3 separate regions of the Homo sapiens genome follow, and all the other regions are linked to region 2. Evidence: promoter capture Hi-C in human tissues and cell types (Jung and others, 2019). All regions are on one chromosome and are shown on one strand. Each heading gives the region's core, a stretch centred on a gene start or on the middle of the fragment in contact. The rest is flanking DNA. Distances are from core to core; before and after follow the strand shown.

The links. The method cuts DNA at HindIII sites, captures the fragments that hold promoters and counts their contacts. A contact is called where the count stands out against the background at its distance.
Region 1: a fragment that was not itself captured here is called in contact with the fragment with the promoter of TMEM14A in region 2 in 3 of the 25 tissues and cell types used here (dorsolateral prefrontal cortex, hippocampus and lymphoblastoid cells).
Region 3: a contact is called between a fragment that was not itself captured here and the fragment with the promoter of TMEM14A in region 2, in 3 of the 25 tissues and cell types used here (H1 embryonic stem cells, IMR-90 fibroblasts and mesenchymal stem cells).

The regions. Positions count from the first base shown.
Region 1 is chr6:52,439,104-52,442,851 of GRCh38, forward strand. The region is part of intron 3 of EFHC1 (EF-hand domain containing 1); the gene reads left to right. Among named protein-coding and RNA genes, the nearest start is that of EFHC1, 21 kb to the left of the region's middle. The HindIII fragment of the contact is 6,132 bases long and covers 1-3,748 here.
Region 2 is chr6:52,668,428-52,672,569 of GRCh38, forward strand. It overlaps TMEM14A (transmembrane protein 14A), which reads left to right and starts at 2,686. Exons shown (of 5, transcript NM_014051.4): 1 at 2,686-2,818. It overlaps LOC730101 (a long non-coding RNA gene), which reads left to right. Exons shown (of 3, transcript NR_024405.1): 3 at 1-726. RefSeq lists enhancers at 1,902-2,402, 2,391-2,550. The HindIII fragment of the contact is 4,412 bases long and covers 343-4,142 here.
Region 3 is chr6:52,538,231-52,542,105 of GRCh38, forward strand. All of the region lies in intron 1 of TRAM2 (translocation associated membrane protein 2), which reads right to left. Among named protein-coding and RNA genes, the nearest start is that of TRAM2, 37 kb to the right of the region's middle. The HindIII fragment of the contact is 4,285 bases long and covers 1-3,452 here.

The DNA.
Region 1 (3,748 bases), core at 156-2,655, 230 kb before region 2:
CTATATGTAAAAAGTCCTCTATTTCGTAAGTTTGGATTTTTTAATACAAAGGAAACTTTTATTAAAGTTACATGCATAGAGGATATAGGTGGCCTTTCTTTACTACAAAGTGTAGGAATTAGGAAGTCAATTCCAAATTTGTCTTAGTTAAAAAAATATTTCTAGCAGCAAAGATATAGTTTCTGAAGTATTTTATGTCCCTATTCCAGGATACCTAGTGCCATATGTGACTAATTTTTACCATGCACTGAGCTCCTATGAATCCATTATTGTTTTCATTTAGTAGTTTGTTTAACAGATATTTATTTGCATGCCTGCTTTGTTCCATGCACTGTTCTAGGTGCCAGATGTTTTCAGGAAGGTACTTGATATTTTTCAGATGACTATGACAAGCTAATAGTGCACCATTTCTCCTTTCCTTGCATGTTATAGGTACTTGCCCCTATAGAGGTTCCAATCTTGTTGGAGGAGATAAGCAATAGCAAATAAATAGATTGGTTATATGTCAGATGATGATAACAGCAATGGAGGAAAATAAAGCTGAGTAAAGGGAATGGAAGTTGAGGGGCTCTTTATAGAGGCGGATCAGAGAATGCCTCAGTGATAAGATGACATATGAATAGAGGCCTGAAGGAAGTAAAGAAAGGAGCCATGGCATCAGTGCCATTCCAAAGCAATAGAGAAAAATAGCTTCAAAAGTAGAGGTGCTAGACCATCTTTGAGATATTCTCCCGTTCCAACATATTTTTATCTCTTTGCTTTTTAGGTGTCTGAGGTCTTATATATCATAGGCAGTTTCACAATTGTACCAACAGTGAGAAATGATAAAATGTTATCTAAACATAAATGTATTAACAATTATTTTTACAGTTGTGTTTTCATAACAATTATTTTTACAGTTGTGTTTTTATGGGCAATTTGAACATTTGCAAGTTAATCACTGAGCGTTTGACCTAATCTATTTATAGTCGGTTCTCATTATTGACAGTAATTAGGACTATAAAGTCACCACAAACACTGAATTAGTGAATACTGAACCACTAGTCTTAGAGGAAATACAGGGTTAGGTTCCCACTAATCTCTGGCCACATTTTTGTCAACTGATCAATACATAAGTTTGATTCATGTATGTTTCTGTTTAAAGACACCTTATTTAATATATACGGTTGATTCATTAACATTAAACTCACACCCAACAGCACTATAACTCACGTCTGAACAAAGCTTATCTAAGACATGCATTTTCTCCATGAGGTGTGTTACAGCCTTCTTGTGCTTAGGAACACTAAATAGCACTTCATCACTAGGCACTGGGACCCTTTAAACAGCAAAATCACCAACAAAAAACACAAAAATGCAAAAAATCTGGCACCTTCATGTATATGTATATGTATGTGTATATGTATCACATTTTCTTTTTCCAGTTTACCATTGATGGGCATTCAGGTTGATTCCATGTCTTTGCTATTATGAATAGTGCTGCGATGAACATACTTGCGGGTATGTCTTTATGGCAGAATGATTTATATTCCTTTGGGTATATACCCAATAATGAGATTCCTAGGTCAAATGGTAGTTCTGTTTTCAGGTCTTTTAGGAATCACTACACTGCTTTCTACAATGGTTGAACTAATTTATACTCTCATCACCAGTGTATAAACATTTCTTTTTCTCCACAACCTTGACAGCACCTGTTATTTTTTTACTTTTTAATAATAGCCATTCTGACTGGTGTGAGATGATATTTCATTGTGGTTTTGATTTGCATTTCTCTAATGATAGTGATGTTGAGCTTTTTTTTCATATGGTTATTGGCCATGTGTATGTCTTCTTTTGAGAAGTGTCTGTTCATGTCCTTTGCCCACTTTTTAATGGGGTTCTTTGCTTTTTTTCTTGTAAATTAAAGTTTCTTATAGATGGTGCATATTGGACCTTTGTCAGATGCATAGTTTGCAAATATTTCTTTCCCATTCTTTAGATAGTCTTTTTACTCTGTTGATGCTTTCTTTTGCTCTGCGGAAGCTCTTACGTTTAATTAGATACCATTTGTCAATTTTTGCTTTTGTTGTGATTGCTTTTGGTGTCTTTGTCATGAAATCTTTGCCCATTCCTATGTTTAGAATAGTGTTGCCTTGGTTGTCTTCCAGGGTGTTTATAGTTTTGGGTTTTACATTTAAGTCTTTTATCTATCTTGAGTTGATTTTTATATCTGGTGTAAGATATATGGCTAGCATATGGCTAGCAGGTTATCCCAGCACCTTTCCCCATTGCTTATTTTTGTCAACTTTGTTGAAGATCACATAATTATAGGTGTGTAGCCTTATTTCTGAGCTCCCTATTCTATTCCATTGGTCTATGTGTCTGTTTTTGTACCAGTACTGTACTGTTTTGGTTACTGTAGCCCTGTAGTATAGTTTGAAGGCAGGTAACATGATGCCTCCAGCTTTGTTCTTTTGCTTAGAATTGCCTTGACTATTCAGGCTCTTTTTGGGTACCATTGAATTTTAAAGTATTTTTTTCTAGTTCTGTGAAGAGTGTCACTGGCAATTTGATAGGAATAGCATTGAATCTGTACATTGCTTTGGGCAGTATGGTGACTGTAAAGATATTGATTTTTCGTATCCATGAGCATGTAATGTTTTTTCATTTGCTTGTGTTATCTCTGATTTCCTTAAGCAGTGTTTTGTAATTCTCATTGTAGAGATCTTTCATCTCCCTGGTTAGCTGTATTCCTAGGTATCTTATTCTTTTTGTGACAGTTGTAAATGGGATTGTGTTCCTGATTTTACTCTCAGCTTGGCTGTTGTTGGTGTATAGGAGTGCTAGTGATTTTTGTATGTTGATTTTGTGTCCTAAAATTTTGCCGAAGTTGTTTATTAACTTAAGGAGTTTTTGGGATGAGGCTCTGGAGTTTTCTAGATATAGAATCATGTTTTCTCCAAACAGGGATAGTTTGACTTTCTCTCTTCCTACTTGGATGTCCTTCATTTCTTTCTCTTGACTGATTGTTCTGGCCAAGACTTCCAATATTGTCTTGGATAGAAGTTGTGGAAGAGGGCATCCTTTTCTTGTGTCAGTTTTCAAGAGGAATGCTTCCAGCTTTTCCCTGTTCAATATAATGTTGGCTGTGGGTTTTTCATAGATGGCTCTGATTATTTTGAGGTGTGTTCCTTTAATACCTAGTTTATTTATTTATTTATTTTATTATTATACTTTAAGTTATGGGGTACATGCGCACAACGTGCAGGTTTGTTGCATATGTATACATGTGCCATGTTGGTGTGCTGTACCCATTAATTTGTCATTCAATTAGGTATATCTCCTAGTGGTATCCCTCCCCACACCCCCCACCCTATGACAGGCCCCAGTATGTGATGTTCCCCACCCTGTGTCCAAGTGTTCTCATTGTTCAATTCCCACCTATGAGTGAGAATATGCAGTGTTTGGTTTTCTGTCCTTGCGATAGTTTGCTCAGAATGATGGTTTCCAGCTTCATCCATGTCCCTACAAAGGACATGAGCTCATCATTTTTTATGGCTGCATAGTATTCCATGGTGTATATGTGCCACATTTTCTTAATCCAGTCTATCATTGTTGGACATTTGGGTTGGTTCCAAGTCTTTGCTATTGTGAATAGTGCCGCAATAAACATATGTGTGCATGTGACTTTATAGCAGCATGATTTATAATCCTTTGGGTATATGCCCAGTAATGGGATGGCTGGGTCATATGGTATTTCTTGTTCTGG
Region 2 (4,142 bases), core at 1,436-3,935:
AAATGTTGGCCTGCCATAAGATCATATTTTCAAAGGACAAGAATAATGTCCTTTGACATTGTTTGAAATCTGAAAGGAGAAAAAAATCAAGAATCTGAAGTGGGCCTTAAAAAAATCAGTAAGTCCCTTGTGACTCTGATTTTTATGAATCTGTCTCTCAAAAGCCAGGGTGCCCCCAGAAGAACTGAGACAAACTGAGTTTCTGAACATTTGAAAATGAGGAGCAGGCTCAGGATCCACAGGGTGTAACCATCCCGTGAGGCCCTGCCTGAGCAGCCAGCCAGTCAGTGAGGCTCTTCACCTTACTTCCATTTCTCTGATTCCATCTATGTACAACTTACGAAAACTTGCATTATTATAGACTGGGAGTTCTTAAATTGGAATCTGTGAATCTAAAGGGGCCAGAGGATAGAAATCAGGAAATCTGAAAACTTCGATGGAAAAAAGTTTTTATTTATTTCCATCAGGAAAATAGGCAACAAACCACAGCAGTATTAGTACCTGTGTCTCTGTCATCACTAGGAATCACAGATATCCACGTTACAGATATCTTAAAATATTTATGTACAGCACCACTCTGAAATTATGGTAATAATTAGATCCACCCCCTAGGTCTTGTAATCTTTAATATGTTAATAAAGAAGCACATCTATTATGTGACAGATTTAAATGTTTAAGAATTTGATTTCAATGAAATTGCATTTCAATAAAATTGGCTTCCTTTGCAATCCTGTGTATTTTATTTTGTGCATTTCTCCAGACTGCCAAAGAGGTTGGTGACACATTGAAAGTTAAGAGTCTCTGCTGTGGATCATGCATAGAAAGCTTTACAAAACAGTTGAGGGGAATAGGCTTTCCTGCATCCTTACCTTGGGCTGCAGCCTTTCCATTAGCTGGAGAAGGCAGCAGCTGGTGCCTATGAGTTGAGAGGGCAGTGGTCCCTTTGCCTAAGAACCATCCTGTTCCCACATATTCAAGGGTATGGAATTCCCATAATATTCAAAGAGTTTTTCTTTAGTTTTAGGTGATACGCCTTGAGTAGGAATATCATGAGGCTGTTTCCAGCTTCGAGTATGTTGGTGATAGGGTGTAAGGGATCTCAGAGCATCTAGTCTTGTCCATATCTTAAATCCAGGCACTGAGGTCCAGAGGGGAGTTATTTACCCAGGTCACATCAGATGAAGATAATGAAGTATTCCAAGAGGATTTTAGTTTTATTCCAAATAGGGTAAGTGTTCTGAGAGTGTGAGGAGAGAAGGTGAGGAGGCTGGGGTAAGGATGGGCATAGAAGGGGATGGAAAGGAGGGCTGAGAGAACTCAGAACCAAATTTCAGGCTATCACTTTCTCCACGCCACATTCCAGTGCCTTGCCATCAACTCTTCTGTGAATCTTCAGGAATTTTATTAATTCCCCAGGACCAACTTAGACTTTCATAAGTTAGATGTAGTTATATTACTTCCCTGAAGCACTTTTATGCACAAAGAATAGATGTAGCAAACAAACTTCACAAGATTTAATTTTTGAGTTTCCTTTTTTATTCTGAGGAATTCCGCTGTAATTCTCAGTGACACAGAACCTCTAGAGCTACTTCACTATGACAACCTTCTTCAAATCTCCAAAGGGCTGTTACATAAGGAAGAGGGTCGGAGTTCTGTATTCAATCAAGAAGGCAGAAGATTGAGATGATAAGTTGCTACAGGGAGGCATAATTTAAAGTCAATTTAAACTGTAATCCCAGCACTTTGGGAGGCAGAGGCGGGAGGATTGCTTTGAGCTCAGGAATTCAAGACCATCCTGGGCAACACAGTGAAACCCCGTCTCTACAAAAAAAAAATAGTCGGGTGAGGTGGCACACACCTGTAATCCCAGCTACTTGGGAGGTTGAGGCTGGAGAATCGCTTGAACCCAGGAGGCAGGAGGCAGAGGTTGCAGTGAGACGGGATGGTGCCACTGCACTCCAGCCTGGGCGACCGACTGAGATCCTGTATTTAAAAAAAAAATAAGGTCAGTTTAAGTTTCGTTCCTGGGATTGAGCGGATTGCCTTGCATTAGGCAAGGTTTTAAGTGCTTTCCAACTCTGGAATTCTATACCTTTCCCAGTAGATATCTAAACCCAGCAAATCCTGGGCCTGAAGTTTAAAACTAGGATCCTCGTCTCCCAACCACATCTAGATGATCCCATAGTGTAATGAAGGGTGCTTGGGCTTTGACACCAGGCAAACTTGGATTTTGACCTGGGACAACTAAGTCACTTGACCTCACTGAACCTTAGCTCCCTCCACTGACAGTGGGGACAGTCTGCTGGAGGGTGTGTAGAAGACCTCGGGTTGCCTTTTGGAGGTTCTGGAAATGTCCCTTGAAAGATGAATGGAGTTAATTTAAAAATCTTCGCCTTCTGTAATTTTGGCTTCTTGCAAACACGCTTCCTGCCAGTCCTGCTCCGTCAGGCGGGAGGCAGCAAACCCCAGCCCTGGCTCCAGGACAGGGCCGAAGGCAGGATAGACGGAGCAACGGGTCCGGCTGCCGCCGGGATGTTGCAGCACAGGGCCTCCTGGCTGCCTGGCCTACAGGCCGCCCGGATTCAGCCGGAGGGCATGGACCGGGTGGAGTCCTGCAAGGCGAGAAGGGACACAGCGCATGCGCGCGGCAGGGAGGGCGTTTCCAGGAGGGAGCGGCCTTTGCTCAGCGCGAGACGGCTGGGCGCCGAGTGGGACAGCGCTGGTGCGGAGACTGCTTCCGGACTCCAGGTACCGCGCTTGGCGGCAGCTGGCCCCAGACTTCTGTCTTTTCAGCTGCAGTGAAGGCTCGGGGCTGCAGGTGAGCTGTGCATCCCGCAATGGAGACCTTCCTGCTCTGAATTTTCTTACAAAACTGCAGAAATATAAGGGGCGTTGCTTAGCGGGCATCCCCTCCCCCGCGCCAAACCTGTACAGCAAACGATGATGCAGAGGACCTTGAGGGGATTTTGCAGGGCATCGGTCTTACCTCCGCGGTATCATTTTTCTCCTCCTCCCGAGTTTCTGCCTTCTGGTATCCCTAAATATCCCACCTATCCTGCCTCCTACCTTCCTGGATCTGGGGTGGTGGGGTGGGCTCATGGACCATTGCAAAATGCTTGGCAGGATTTTAACCTTCTCAGCACCACCCAGACCCCACTCGAAAATGTGCCTTTTGTGCCCTCCAAGAGCTCAAGGGTAGGTAATTGTTATATCTTTAGCATGTGAAAATGCTTTTTATGTAACAGTTCACCGAAAATCTCTTAATTCTCCGAATTTTGGAGGATTTGGGGCGGGCAGCGAGGCTGTCCCCTGTCACCTTGTTTTGTACCTGGTATGGTAAATCGTTTTGCTGCATTGCATCCAAGATGCGTTTTAGTCCTTCCAAGGCTTGAGCATCACATTTGTGATGAGAGCGTGTGATGTGCTGTGCACATCCTCTCCCACCTTATCCCTTCCATGTTAACACAGCCTCTGGCTTTAATGTGTGCTTCTGGCCTGGCCACATGGCTCCGTCATGGAATAGGTGATTCTTTTGTCTGAATATTCTCTGTGAGAACAGAATCTTCTTGCAAGCATTGGGAGTAGATTTATTTTGCCTCTTTAGAACAACAGTCAGTTCGCTAAGGAGATTAAGGGGCTACCTGTTTCCTGGCAATAAAGCTGTATTGGGTAGGTCAGTTACAGAATGTCTTCAGGCAGAAGCTGTTCCTTTGGTTCACTCACTCATTTATTCATTTAACAAGTATTTTAAGTACCTGCCTTGTGCATGGCAGGGTTCTTGGTGCTGTGAGGAGGACAAAGATAAACTGAACCTTGGTTTGCCCTCAAGGAGCTTGGCTGGCTGAGAGTTGAGAGAATCCCAACCAAGTAAAAGGGTATGGGTCCTCAAGAGAAGATCGCAGGAAGAGCTGGGGGGCTCAGGATGGAGTGGAATTAATCTTTCACAACAGCTACTTAGCTTTAGGAGAAAATTAGGTCTAGAAGTTACACCTGATAATGAAAGAACTCTCATAAGCTTCAGATCTGTATGTAAGGGTGTTTTCCGGACTGTGTGTTGGGCGTCTCAGACTGAATACATTCTAAACAGGTCCCATCATTCCTAGCCACCTCCCTCTTCCCACCGCCACACACCTGCTGCTGTT
Region 3 (3,875 bases), core at 60-2,559, 130 kb before region 2:
TTGATTTCATTCAAGAAATGCACATGTCTTTTAGAGCACAGGGTGGAGACCTCTGTGGGGCTTGGGTTGTCTGCCATCCATTCTCCTCTCTTAATGGCACCAGGGTTTCCTGAGGGAAGCCTCTCTCCAGCTGTGTGTGGGCATAGGATGTGTGTGGGGTCACTACGGGGGATGGGAGGATGGAGGGGATAGACCCTCTCCTCAGGGCAGGAGCTGGGCCAACCGGACACCCTGCCCTGGGCTCTGGGTCTTGGGCGGGTATGAGGAGGTGCTGCTGGCCCCCACAGAGCCTCCTTCAGTTGGCCAGGGTCCACTTCTAGGACACATTATCATTCAATGGGAAGAGCACTGGTGTTCAACTCCGGCTGCACATTAGAATCCCTGGGGGAGCTTCTAAAATCTCTGTGCCTGAGCCACACCCCAGCCAATTAAACCAGACTCTTTGGGGCATGGGCATTTTGTCAAACTCCCCAGAGCATTCCAATGCGCTGCCAAGTCTGAGAACTTTTGCATTTTTTTTAAAGGAAGATAGACATCTGGTATGTGGGCTCTACATATATTCTTGCCCTCACCCAACATATACAGTTAACTGTCATCATTCACATGAATTATGTTCTCTCAAGTCACTGCAAACACTGAATTAGTGAACACTGAAACCTTGTTCCTGGGAGAAATACAGGGTTAGGTTCCTGCAAGCCTCTGGTCCCATTTTTGTCAACAGATCAATTCATAACCTTGTTTTATGTGTGTTTCTGTTTAAAGACACCTAATTTAACATATATTGTTGATTCATTAACATTGAATTCATGGCCAACAGCGCCATAACTCATGCCAGAATAAAGCTTGTCTAACCACATATGCTATCTCCATGAGGCACATCATAGTCATCCTACGCTTAGGATGCTAGACAGCACTTCTGCATGACAGTTGGGGGCCATTTTTAAATAGTGAAATCACCAAAAAGCAGCAGAAAAATGCAAAAAATGTGGCACTAAAGAGACTACGAAAAGGACATCTGTCTACAGGATGAGAGCCGGAACTGGAGGCAGAGTGTCGCCTTGTTTGGCCTCAACTGGGAATGTGAGTGTTGGGCAACCCAAAAGTGTTTGCAGCTCTGCACATCTCTGTGAATGACCAAAGAAGCTGATTTGGGGGTTACAAATAAATCTCAGCAAGTAAGCGAATTTGCAAAAACAAAATCCACAAATAATAAGGATCAAACGTATCAGGGAAAACCTGAACGTCAGCACCATGAGGGCCAAGATTTTTTTTCTTTTTTAACAACTGTATTCAGGTATAATTTACACAACAAAAAAAAAAAATCACCCATTTTAAGTGTACAGCTCTAAAGCATTTATCTTTATTTTTAAACTGTCTCTTCCTTGGGGAAACATAAGCTGTAGGAGCGTGGGGATCTGACCTGCCTTGATGATCTGACTTGCCTTGTTTGAGGTGCACATCCATGGATGGCTTCAAACTGCCCCAGAACAGAGCGGCACTCAGCAAATGCTTAAATGAACACAGTGACTAAGCAGGAGAGAGTCGGTGCTGTGCTCAGCTATCTGACCCTCATCCTGTCATCTGTCCACGATTATTCTTCTCTGTATGTCTTCTCTCTCTCGGTCTGTCCCAGAGCTGGGTGAATAGTAGGTTTCTCATAAATTCCTATTTGACAAACTCATACTGTAAGCAGCTATAATATTTAGTGACTACAGATGAATGCTTAACATGTTTTCTGAACATGATTCTGAGAGAACAGGATCTACGGCCATAATCATGACAAAAATACTAGATCCCAGTATTTTTCCATCCCTAGCCCCCCTGGTAGTAGCAGCAGAAACCATTCTAAAAAGTGCAACTTTCTCTGTAAACAGCCATGCTTGCTCCCACATTACCATATCTCAACAAGATGGTGTCAGTTTCCCTGGTTTATAGATGAAAAAGCCAAATTTGGGGCACAGAGAGATAAAGTAGCCTCCCGAGACCTCACAACTATACAAGCAGAAAAGGCAACATTCAACTTGATTTTTTAAAAACCTTGTCCCAAAAACAAACTTAGGAGGCACACAATACTGCACATAGAATAGAATGGTAATGTAAAATGGAAGCAGGAAAGAACACAAAAAATATGCATTTTAGGCAAAGAAAAGAAGCAAGGAATGAGGCTGATCCACAAAAATGCATTCCAGGAAGTCCTACTCATTGGCTAAAGGTGGCCAGAAATTTGGCTCCAAGCTTTTCTGCAGCCACCTGAAGGAGTGATCAGCTTCTAGATTGACCACATCCATCCATTAAAAAAGCAAAAAGCACTAGTCAAGAGCAGACTTACTTCTTCAGCCTTCTTCTGTGCCTTAAAAGGTCCTTTAGCACCCCAAGTCTTCACTCCATGACCCTCTCCCGACCTCAGACTAGGGATGAAACCACTAACAAGTCCCTCTCCGCAAGCACCAGCTGAGTTCCTGTAGCACACAGGGCTGAGAACCAGGAGCCTATTAAAAATGTCATTCCAATTATTTCTCATCCCTCTAAGGCTGTTTATAGGAAACATTATTGAGTTTAATAGCATTTTAAATGCCAAGCTCAGTGGGTAAAAGGTTAAAAGTGACAACGTGCTAATACACTAATGTAAAAGGAGAACACTGAATTATGTAGGAAGGGTCACATCACACACACACATATACACAGAGAGAAAGAGAGAGTGAGAAAGAGAGAAAGTTTCATTAAATTTTTAACTAAAACAGGGCATCAAACACAAAGGCAAAGGCCTTGAGCATGCTTGTGTAGCCATAACAAACCAAAACTGTTTCACATGCCATGCTGTATTAGGGGCACATGAACCTGAGCTCTTGGCTGCAACTAGACCAAGGATGCTGGTGAAATAGCTGCTTCCAGCTAAGCATAGTGGATGTGGATTCCAGTCCCAAGTCTGCTGTGGGCCAGCTGGGTGACCTTGGGCAGGACATTTCACCTCTCTAGACCCCAGTTTACTCATCTATTAATAACGACAACAACAGTTAATGTTATCGAGTGCTTATTTGGTGCCATGCATGAGTCCAAGGGCTTCACATAAATCTATCTCATGTCATCCCCACAATGACCCTACAAGATAGGTACTAATCATGTCCCCATTTCACAGATAAGCACGGGAAGGATAAAGCCAAAGGAGCAGCTCAGAACGAATGTCCTTAAAGGTCCTTCTCACCCTCAGCTCGAAAAGGTAAACTTTACCTGATTCTACTTACTTTCCAATGCCCAAAACGCAACCTTACACTGACAAACTTTCTAAGAGGTCTTTCCAGAAGTTTAAAATATATTGTTGCTTCTTCACTTTGTGAAGATAAGGTCTGGGTATCACCTATGTCTGACAGAGCAAGAAAATAAGGCCTCTCGGGTTAATCCACCACCTGCCAGCCACAGGCACTGGGTACACCTAGGCTTCCAGATGCCCAGATAGGTTCTCCTTTCACTGCAAGTTGTTAGCTGGTCACCAAAGATAAAAGAGAAGAACTGTGATGAAAGCAGTTTCATGGCTTCTCTTTTAAAGTATTAAATCCTTTGGTTCAGTTTATTCTGTTTTTTTTTTTTTTGGCAGACACATCCATGCATTGGCACTTGGAAGGGGCTGTGTGGGCAGACCAGCCCCCGGGGGCAGACAGGGTACAGAAGGCCTTATTTTACAGGAGCAGCTCTGCTCTTAATGACTTCTGTCCCACGGACACCACACCTCCCACCTAAAGGACAAAACACAGAGACACATATGTCCCACGACTGACAGTGAGGACCCTCATTTTTTCTTCCTGAGAAACACAGGGTAAAGCCAAGTGACAGGTCCTGCTGAGGCTGGGAAATTAGGTACCTAAAACTTCCCTTCTTCT